Regions from separate parts of the Homo sapiens genome. Here region 2 is linked to region 1. Evidence: promoter capture Hi-C in 16 types of primary human blood cells and fetal thymus (Javierre and others, 2016). All regions are on one chromosome and are shown on one strand. Each heading gives the region's core, a stretch centred on a gene start or on the middle of the fragment in contact. The rest is flanking DNA. Distances are from core to core; before and after follow the strand shown.

What was found. The method cuts DNA at HindIII sites, captures the fragments that hold promoters and counts their contacts. A CHiCAGO score of 5 or more calls a contact.
Region 2: a contact is called between a fragment that was not itself captured here and the fragment with the promoter of TESK1 in region 1, in 1 of 17 cell types (naive B cells). The highest score is 5.4, in naive B cells.

The regions. Positions count from the first base shown.
Region 1 is chr9:35,602,060-35,607,282 of GRCh38, forward strand. TESK1 (testis associated actin remodelling kinase 1) reads left to right here and starts at 3,203. Exons shown (of 10, transcript NM_006285.3): 1 at 3,203-3,779; 2 at 3,925-4,046; 3 at 4,178-4,226; 4 at 4,778-4,924. The coding sequence starts at 3,561. RefSeq lists an enhancer at 2,439-2,548 and silencers at 3,029-3,278, 3,309-3,608, 3,629-3,798, 3,733-4,027, 3,809-4,068. The HindIII fragment of the contact is 3,621 bases long and covers 2,997-5,223 here.
Region 2 is chr9:35,758,379-35,763,559 of GRCh38, forward strand. It overlaps RGP1 (RGP1 partner of RAB6A GEF complex), which reads left to right. Exons shown (of 9, transcript NM_001080496.3): 9 at 1-207. Among named protein-coding and RNA genes, the nearest start is that of MSMP, 6.7 kb to the left of the region's middle. The HindIII fragment of the contact is 1,958 bases long and covers 2,724-4,681 here.

The sequences.
Region 1 (5,223 bases), core at 1,953-4,452:
CTAAATTTGATTAAGTTACCAATTTATATCAAATACAGAGGATGGAGGAACATGCTAAATTACCACAGAAATCAAGACTCTAAGAAACTCTACAGGACAAATGAACCAGTTTTAAAAAATAGTAAGAAAAAAGATGGAGAATAAGCATAGATCTGCAAAGACTTAAGAAACATATGGCTGGGTGTGGTGGCTCACACCTATAATCCCAGCACTTTGGGAGGCCAAGGCGAATGGAATGCTTGAGCCCAGGAGTTGAGACCAGCCTGGGCAACGTGGCAAACCCCATCTCTACAAAAATACAAAAATTAGACAGGTGTGGTGGTACCCACACCTCAGTAGTCCCAGCCACTCAGAAGGCTGAGGCAGGATTGCTTGAGCCTCGGGGGTGGAGGTTGCTGTGAGCCGAGATCAACCCACTGCACTCCATCCTGGGTGATAGAGCCAGACCCTGTCTCACAAAAAGAGAGACAGACAGACAGACATATCACCTGCAAAGTACAGACCTAATTTAGATTTTGATTCAAATAAACAATTTTTAAAAATCAAACGTAAGACAGTGAGGGAAATGTAAACAACTGGATGCTTGATGACATGAAGGAACTATTGTTTTTTTTTGGTGTGACAATACTGTGATTTGGTTTTAAAGAAGAATCCTTATCATTTAGAGATAACGTACTGAAACATTTACAGGATGAAATGATATGTCAGAAATATACACAAATATGGAGTGGGGAAGAGGGCACGGGTATAGATGAAACAAGATTGGCCATGAATTGCTCATTGGAGAATCACTGACATAGAAGGGTAAATGAAAGTAGGTACTTTCACCTGGGCCAGGTCAAATATGGCAACAGTACAACTGAGGCAAAGGAAAGCCAATTTTGCACTATGGGTTTCCAACAAAATGGTCTTACTAATCCAAGGTAAATAAACATTCATTTTTCTATTCTGTGTGTGTGTGTTAAGACATTTTCCACCATACAAACAACAACAAAAGGTTTTTTTGAGACAGAGTCCCGCTCTTGTCGCCTAGACAGGAGTGTAATGGCGCGATCTTGGCTCACTGCAACCTCCGCCTCCCGGGTTCAAGCGATTCACCTGCCTCAGATTCCAGAGTAGCTGGAATTACAGGCGCTCGCCACATCAGGCTAATTTTTTTGTATTTTTAGTAGAGACGGGGTTTCACTACGTTGGCCAGGCTGGTCTCATCCTTTCCTGATTGAACCACAGTCACAGCCTCCTTCCTAATCAGTCTCCCGGCCTCCATACAACCACCGCAATCATCTTACAAAAAATAGGCACCTGGCTCTTTGGCTTGGCATTACCATCACCAACTACTACAGTAATTCTCAAACGTGATAAAGGGCCAGAACCCAGTGTCGGTTAAAAGATCTATGATATTAAACAAAATGAGGCATAAATTCCTAGTGTTTACAGATGTCATACAATAAAAAGCAAATTCACAAATTAGTTGTAGATGTTAACATTAATGTGATGAATGAGCGTGTGCTGAAGACCAAACGCCTCCAGAAAAAAGAACAGGATGCACGTGCCCCGTGCAATTCTGTGAGGTTGGCCTGCCTCCACCGGCTGTGGAAGGATTGCGAATGTCTCCCATTCCTCTCGCTCCAAACTTGTGCAATACCTTCCCTTGTACAGCGCACCAAGACAGCATCTGGCCTTCTCTTGACTCTAAGGCATCATGTATCATTTATGACCGTCTTTATTCTTTTCTCAGTAGCCCTCGACAAGCGAGTAGTATTTCTTGGCTCCAAGTCTCATAAACGTGTAACCAGACTCCATTGGAAGACGGTAACCCCACGCGATACGGACTGTGCTTGTATTAATTCTCTTTTAAGCTTACTACAGAAATATCAATACAGTACTTGAGAATTCCTGCAGGACTCAGCCTCGCTTCCTCGAGGAGCTCTCAGCCTGCCTCCGCACTCGAGACGGCAGCTTTCTCTCCCTCCGCCCACCGTTCCGCCGCTAGGTGGCAGGCGGCTCAACGACGCCCTTTTAAACCGTTTGCCCCGGAGTGGACCGCCGGGATCGCGTGTCACCACCCAACCCTAGCGATGATTGGCTATTTCGCCGAGGCCGGAGGAGGAACCAGCGGCAGAACCGGAAGCGTCTGGTACGGCGAGTGCACGGAGTCCTGAGACTGCGTGCGCACCCAGGCACCGCGCCGACTTAAAGAGGCCAGTTGCAGCCCCTCCTCCGGCCTTAGGGGGCAGACCGTGTTCCTACGTGGAGGGCGGAACCCTCACACTGAGGAGGGCTGGGTCACACTGAGGGGAGGAGTCACCTTGAGAGGAGGGGTCACAATGACTAGTGGATTTCCTCGGAGGTGGGGTCTCACTGCGTGGGAGGAACACAGAGCAAGGGGGTGCAGCACTGAGGGGTTCTGACACACTGACGGTGGCAGTGCCACACTGGGGAAAAGTGCCCCCGAAAGGGAGGTGTCTCACTGAGGAAGGGAGGGGTCTCCGAGGGACAGCGTTCTTTGAGGGGGGTGGGATCTTGCGGAAGGACGGGCTTCCCTGCAGGTGGAGGCTTCTCTCTTAGAGTCTTTTGGGCAAAGTAGTAAGAGGGAGGTCCCGGCTGGGTGGTCACAGGGCGGAGGACCTGGACTCTCTTCTTTATTGGGAGGCGGCAGGATGAAGTGAGGAGGAGTCGGGGCTAAGCTGGGTATGGGCCGGCCAAAGGCTTCCTATAGCCCCGGGGTATCACAACCTCCCGTGAAGGTAGAAGGTGTTAGGGAGGCCAGAGGTTCAAGGTGTCGGAGTCGAAGAGACCTGGGAAATGGGCAGGCTGGGCCGGGGCGCAGGCCAGGAAGGTGGACAGGTTGCTAGGCTACCTCTGATTGCGGCTGGGCCTGAGGGGCCTACCTTTCTGCCCCGTTGGTCCCTGGAGCCCAGGAATCCGGCAGGTTTCTGAGCCCGACCCTCAACGGACAGTAACCCAGGGAGGAGAGGGGACTCCCTGGGCAGCTAAGCTTCGCATGCGCACCATCAGCCCTTAATTCCCTCCCGTTATTCAAGCTCAGGCCGGAGCTTATTTGACCCGGGCGGCCCAGGGCATCGCGGCCGGAAAGCGGGGAGGCGGGGGTGCGCACCTGAGGGGGCGTGGCCGCTGCCGGGAGGCCGGGCTGGAAGGAGTTAAGCGGAGGCCCGGCCCAGCCCCGCCCCCGGCAGGCCGCGGAGCCTGATCCCCGGCGGCTAAGCGGAGCAGCCGCCGCCCGCCCGCCCGCCCGCCTCCGCCCGCGGCAAGCCAGCCCGCCGGCGCCCCGGAGCGCTGCCGCCACCGTCACCGCCACCGCCCGGTCCAGGCCCAAGCCCAGGCCCTGCGCGGAGCGGAGCGGCGCGGCGTCCACCCGGGCCCAGCCAGCCGGCGCGGCGGGGGCGGGTCCAGGATCTTCGGCGGATCTTCCATTCTCAGGGCGGGAGCCGGAGTCCGGGCGCCCGGGATCGGGCTGGGCCCGCGCCCATGGCAAGCGCGGCCTGCCCGGGCCCTGGGGACCCTGCCATGTGAGGCAGGCCCGGGCTGGGGGCCCGGCCATGGCCGGGGAACGGCCCCCACTGCGGGGCCCTGGGCCCGGGCCTGGAGAGGTGCCGGGGGAGGGGCCCCCGGGGCCGGGGGGCACGGGCGGAGGCCCGGGCCGGGGCCGCCCCTCCTCCTACCGGGCTCTCCGCAGCGCCGTGTCTAGCCTGGCGCGTGTGGACGATTTTCACTGCGCGGAGAAGATCGGGGCCGGCTTCTTCTCTGAGGTCTACAAGGTAGGACCGGCCGAGAGGGCAGAGGGGCGGGACCGAGCCTTCAACCAGAGGCTGAAACTAGGGGGCCGGGAGTGCGGGGAAGAGGGTCCAGACTCCGGCGACCCGCCCGACCTGCCCGGCCCTCGCCGGCTGCTCCTGCCCCCAGGTTCGGCACCGACAGTCAGGGCAAGTCATGGTGCTGAAGATGAACAAGCTCCCCAGTAACCGGGGCAACACACTACGGGAAGTGCAGCTGATGAACCGGCTCAGGCACCCCAACATCCTAAGGTGAGCGGCCCCAGTCTCTGGGCAGCTTGCTGGGCGGGAGAGAAAGGGAAAGATCCCGCGGGAAAAGTGGAACTGAGGAGGAGCTGAGGCCTTTAATAGCCTATCCTTCTATCTTCCCCATCCTCTTGCAGGTTCATGGGAGTCTGTGTGCACCAGGGACAGCTGCACGCTCTTACAGAGGTGAGGATAGGCCAGGAAGGAGGGATCCCCACCCCCCTTCACCCCCAAGGATAAAGGGAGTCAACAGGCCTGGTGGATCTACGGAGGACTAGTGAGAGGCAACAGGATCTCCTCTCAGGGGAGGCTTTCCTGAACTTTCCTTTAGGCAAACCACATATAAAAGGCCTCAACTGGTCTTATTCTCTGTATCCCCTAGAACAGTGCTGTCCAATAGAATTTTCTTCAGTGACGGAAATGTTCTCTATCTGTGCTGTCCAATACAGTAGCCACTAGCCACATGTGGTTAAATTTAAATTATTTTCATTGTTTAGATTATTTTTTGTGGGTCAACTTGATTAAAAAATTTTTTAAATTATTTAAATTGTTGCACATGGCTAATGGCTATTGAGTTGAACGGGGCAATCCTAGAACATGGATGGGGGGGGTCCTACAGCACAGTCTTACCCCTATGACCTCTGTGATCCTCGGGAGTGTCCCCTAGCGTGTAAGTGGGGGACCTAGAATACAGACTGAAGTCTGACATCTATTCCCATTCTCCTCCTATGCACCAGTATATGAATGGGGGGACATTGGAACAGCTGCTCAGCTCCCCTGAACCCCTGTCCTGGCCGGTCAGGCTCCACCTGGCCCTGGACATTGCCCGAGGCCTGCGGTACCTGCACTCCAAAGGTGTATTTCACCGCGACCTCACATCCAAGGTAGGCTAGCAGGGTGGGTGGAGACATGAAAGAGGGTTTGAGGCTATTAGGTTGTAACTGGCCTGTGGATGTTGGAATATGGATAACAGATATATTAGGATGTTGGAGTGGCAAGGCATTGGAGAATATTGGGGGACCAGGGTGAGGGGAGTGCTCGGAGGGACTGAGTAGCACCCTGTGTTTGGAGTGTTGGATGATGTTGCAATATTGAAGTGCCTTGAAAAACTGGGAGAGCAGAGAGGGTTGGAGTTATGCTGGAGTGACAGGGCTTTGGGTTATACATTGGGAGGCCAGACAGC
Region 2 (5,181 bases), core at 2,453-4,952, 160 kb after region 1:
CAGCAATTTATTAGTCTGACTTCTCTTCTAAAATCAACTCTAAAATGGTATTTTGTACTTGTCTCAGAGACGAATTCTGCCATGATCCTTATGATCTGTGTTATGTTGGGCCAAAGGTGATTACTTTATAAATTATAAAGATCCCTAAACTCTGCATTGCCTTTGGTCCCAAACAAGCAAATCTGGGTCAATTAATGAAAAAAAAAAGAAAAGAAAAGAAAATGTCTTACTTTGGGCCCTGTTGCACTCTCCCGTGCTGTTTTAGCCCCAGCCCTACTCTATTCCCAGTGGCCTTTGCCTTCATTCCTTCTTTGCTCTGCTGGGCATCTTGAGAGGAAAACTTCACACCGACTTCCTCTACTATAAATTCTCTCCCTCCTCTCAACTCTACACTTCTCTTTGCCAACATACACCACTACTGCTTCACTGATTTTTTTTTTTTAAGCCCACAGTCCTTTCTGGCTCTTTTCCACCTTTAACACTCTTATGTTGAAATCTTCCGTTTTTCCTCCTTTCTCTTTAGTAAGACCTCAGGTTTTTAAAAAAGCTAGGCTTGATTGTTTATTCTGCATGGTCCACTTCTGCCTTCCTTCCTCTTCTATTACCCTTTTCTTATTCTAGACTGTTTTTAAACTCAGTTATGCTTGCTTTCACCAAAGCCTTAACCTTTCCTGTGATTAGAAAAAGATGCTTATGTTTCCATTACTTTTCCTACAAGAAAACGCATTCTCAAATTCATATCCACTTCAAACTCTCCCAACGTTTTGCATCCAGAAGCATAAAGTGGCCATTATTGTGAAGTCCACTGAGTGACCATTTAAGCTTGGTGTTATGCCACACACTGTATAGTGAATTTCATAATCCTGGTGCCAGATTTCTAAATTATTACAGACAATAGATGATGGACTGGGCACAGTGGCTCACACCTGTAATCCCAACATTTGGGGAGGCCGAGGCAGGCAGATTGCTTGAGACCAGGAGTTTGAGACCAGCCTGGCCAACATGGTGAAACCCTGTCTCTAAAAATACAAAAATTAGCTGGGTGTGGTGGCGCGTTCCTGTAATCCCAGCTACTCTGGAGGCTGGGATGGGAGAATCACTGGAACCTGGGAGGCTGAGGCTCCAGTGAGCCGAGATTGCATCACTGCACTGCACTCCAGCCTGGGTGACAGAGGGAGACCCTGTCTCCAAAAAAAAAAAAAAAAAAAAAAAAAAAAAAAAAGAATTCTTTGCTATGAAACTGAAATTGCTTCTCCACTTTCCCTTCCCTCTCATGATCTCTCCTCAGTAAAACCAAGGTGCATTTTTCTGGACCCACCTATCTTGGGGGTGATTAGGAGTAGAGGGTTGTAAATACTTAAAATTTTTTTCCTTTCTGATATAATTATTGATCTCCTTCTAGAAGTCCTGTCGTCTTTGCTGGAGAATTTTTATTTAAGCATCCTTTTGTAGAAGAATCTCTAATGTCCTTTTTTCATCCAGATCTACACTTGATGAATCCTAAAGCTATTTCTACACAGTTCCTTTATTCATTTTTCCTTTTTTTTTTTTTTCATTTTTTGTGCCTGTTATTTTTCATGGGTTTATCATCTCTTTACAAATGGGCTGCGTCCACTGAGGGGCAGCATTGATTTCCCGCTGCTGTCACTCAGCGCCTCAGCCTCCTTTGATCCCTTTTTTGGTTCACCCTTGTTGCCCATACTTACTTTCCTTTATTGTCAGTTCTAATCTTCTCCTTTTCTATCTCTTTAATGAAATTCACCATTTTAAAAAAGATTTCTGGGGTCTCAAAAGTTTTTCAGGGGATCTCGCATAAGTCTCTGCATTGTGACCTAAACTGTGTAGCACTGATTTCCAATGGATTGGGGCTGATGGGCGGGGTGGGGGGCCATTGTTGGGAGAGCAGAATATCCTCATGAATAGAGTTTCTCAGTGACACTGTTAACATTTTGGAGGATAATCCTTTGTTGTGGGGGGCTGTCCTGTGCATCGTAGGATGCTTAGCATCTGCTCAGTAGATGCCAATGATATTATCTCAGATGTGACAACCAAAATGTCTCCAAATCCTGCCAAATGTTCCTGGAAGACAAAATATACCCTCTACTCCAGTGTATAGAATTACTGTACTAGAATATCAGCTTTTTGAAATTGATTAAATGGTTATACTTTCTCTTCCCAACTGCTGATTTGTAGCTGGAATTTTAAAAGTGTGGTCTTTGACTTACTTGGTAGGTGGTAGCTTCTTAAAATTGCAGGTTCCTGAGCTTATCCTAGACCTACTGAATCAGAAACGCTGAAGGTAGAACCCAGAGATCTGATTTTTACAAGACACTACCTTCCCACCCCCAACCAGGTAATTCTGCCCTAGGCTTGACCCTCCTGTGGCATAACTGCTGCATTATCTACATTTTTTTCTCCTGCAAGTCTTCCTGGTGTTCCAGCTTTGCTTCCGCTTTTGGCCCCATGATGCCAACACAAATAAGGAGGCCTCAGGTTACCAAGACAACTGGAGCACAGGAAACTGTACAGGCTCAGTGCTCCCACAAGCATCATGGACTGTGATTATGCTGGCTTGCTTTCTCCTTAGGGACTCAGCCATACTTCCTTTTCCCCATCCCCAAAACTACCCAGACTGGCAGAGACTGAGGCCCAAGCCACAGATCCTGATTTCACAGACCTGGTAGTAGATTTATGGGGTGGGTAGGATAAGGAATGATGAATGAAGCTTTCCTTCTAGCATTGATATTTCATGTCATTTTGGTGATAATTGAATTTGTAATCATGAGAACTACATTTCCCTGGGAGTTGGTTGTTAGATGCAAGTTTTGGAATCAGGATGCTTCTCTTTATTTATTATGTTATTTATGCCTGCTTCACTGGACCTTGAGTCTTAGATGTTTTTGCATCCCTAGCTAAATGTCTTTACAATTTGCTTTGGGCCAAAAGGTTTGGCAATCTACTTCTAGTACACTGGAAGCAGCTAATGTTCAGTAAGAAAAGAATATTTTTAGGGCCAGGTGCATGGCTCATGCCTGTAATCCCAGCACTTTGGGAACATGAGGCAGATGGAGTGCTTGAGTCCAGGAGTTCAAGACCTGCCTGGGTAACATGACAAAACCCTGTCTCTACAAAAAAGAATACAGAAATTAGCCAGGTGTGGTGGTGCACTCCCGTAGTCTCGGCTACTTGGGAGGCTCAGGTGAGAGAATCACTTGAGCCTGGGAGGTCGATGCTGCAGTGAGCCATGATTGTGCCACTGCACTTCAGCTTGGGTGACAGAGCAAGACCCTGTCTCAAACAAACAAACAAACAAACAAAAAACCCCAAAAAAACAAAAACAACCAAATAATGAATTTGGGTTCTATTTACACTTAGTTATCAAAGCTAGTCATTTTTTAAAGGAGGATCATCTGGCTTGATTAAATTAAGTTTCCTTAAAGCCACAAATAAATGAAAACCTACTTGCACTTAGATGCTTTAAAATACTGACTCTGACTGGGTGTGGTGGCTCACACCTGTAATCCCAGCACTTTGGGAGGCCGAGGCAGGCAGATCACTTGAGGTCAGGAGTTTGAGACCAGCCTGGTCAACATGGTAAAACCCCCCATCTCTACCAAAAATACAAAAAATTATCCAGGCATGTTGGCACATGCCTGTCATCCCAGCTGAGGCAGGAGAATCACTTGAACCTGAGGCAGAGGTTGCAGTGAGCCGAGATCAGTGTGAGATTCTGTTGAAAAAAAAAATTCAACTTGATCCAAAACAGGAGCAGGCTGCCTCCATGGTATATTCATGTCATGCCAGAGCAAGAGCAAGGGAGAATACAAGGAAATAAGGCAGACATGATAGCTCTCCTCAGACAATTGAAGGACTGTCATGATGAAGGAGCAATTAGATTTACTGGTTTAGTTCCAGAAGATAGATTAAGAACTTTTATTTAGTGATGGAGGACAAATTTTGGCTTGATAAGGAAATTTTGACTCATTTGAGGACCCCAAAGTGGAATGAACTGAATTGTTAGGCAGTAAATTTTGGCCATATTGTTCATATAGAGGTTAGATGACCGTTTGCACAAGGGTCGGATGAGGTTTTAGACATTAAATTGGGTTCAACCTGCAAGGAGAAGCAGGCAGATTTAGGAAAAGTCAATTCGCCCTTTTTCTGTCATATGATTCTGTGGCACTATTAAATTCATTATTATTTTTCTAGGCACCTCTGTCAATTTTACCCCCTCAAGTAATTGATAATAGAGTTGATAGTAAAGTCTTTAGAGATTTCTCAAACTTTGTTCCTCAGCCCTCTGGAGATTTCTGAAGGATGCCTCAGAAGTGGCTGAGAAGGGTGAAATGAAGGCTAGCTGGGGCTCTGAGCCCTTTTACCTATGCTTCAACCAGAACAATCTTGCTTTTATTTGTTTTACAAATTAAACGTACTGGCTTCCTTGAAGATTTTCTTTTTAACGGAAAAAAAAAAACAGTTCTGCTGTTAAAAAAAAAAAGTTAAAGGCTCTGATATTTCAAGGTGTTCCTTTTATTGAAAGGGAAGCTGAGATACGGAAGAAGTGTCTTGCCAGAGGTCACACAGCTAGTAAATTTCAGAGCTGGGATTCAAATCTAGCTCTTCTAGTTCAAATCTTTTGTTTCTTCCACTCTACAAGTCTGCCTTGTTAGAATTCAATGAAAGCTTCTCTCCATTCTACTGGCCACCACTGTAATCCAGAATCTCATTTCTTCTAATTTACTATTCTGTATTAGCCACTTAACTAGTCTCCTTGCTGTCTAATTCTGTTCTATATTATATATACTGTTGCCATTTTATTCTTCTTGGAACATTGTTTTCGTCCTGAGATTTCCCTGTTTAAGAACCTTCTCCCTATCTCTTAGAACTTTTCAGGCTAACCTTGTGTTAGCATTCTTTAGGATCCTCATTGTTCAGCTGAATGAGAGCCTAAATCCATCCTATTATGAGTAATTAATGGGCTATATAATAGTGAGATTAACGGAGTCCCTCCCTATTCCTAGACTTCACCTTTGGCAAGATTTTCATGTGTACAGTTTTAATCAGGCATGACAAGAAGATACAAAAGAAACAGAAAATCACAGCCCATAAAAAGCAAGTTACATAATAATATGAATAATACAATCCTATTTATATCTCACATGCATGCATTTTTTAAAACAA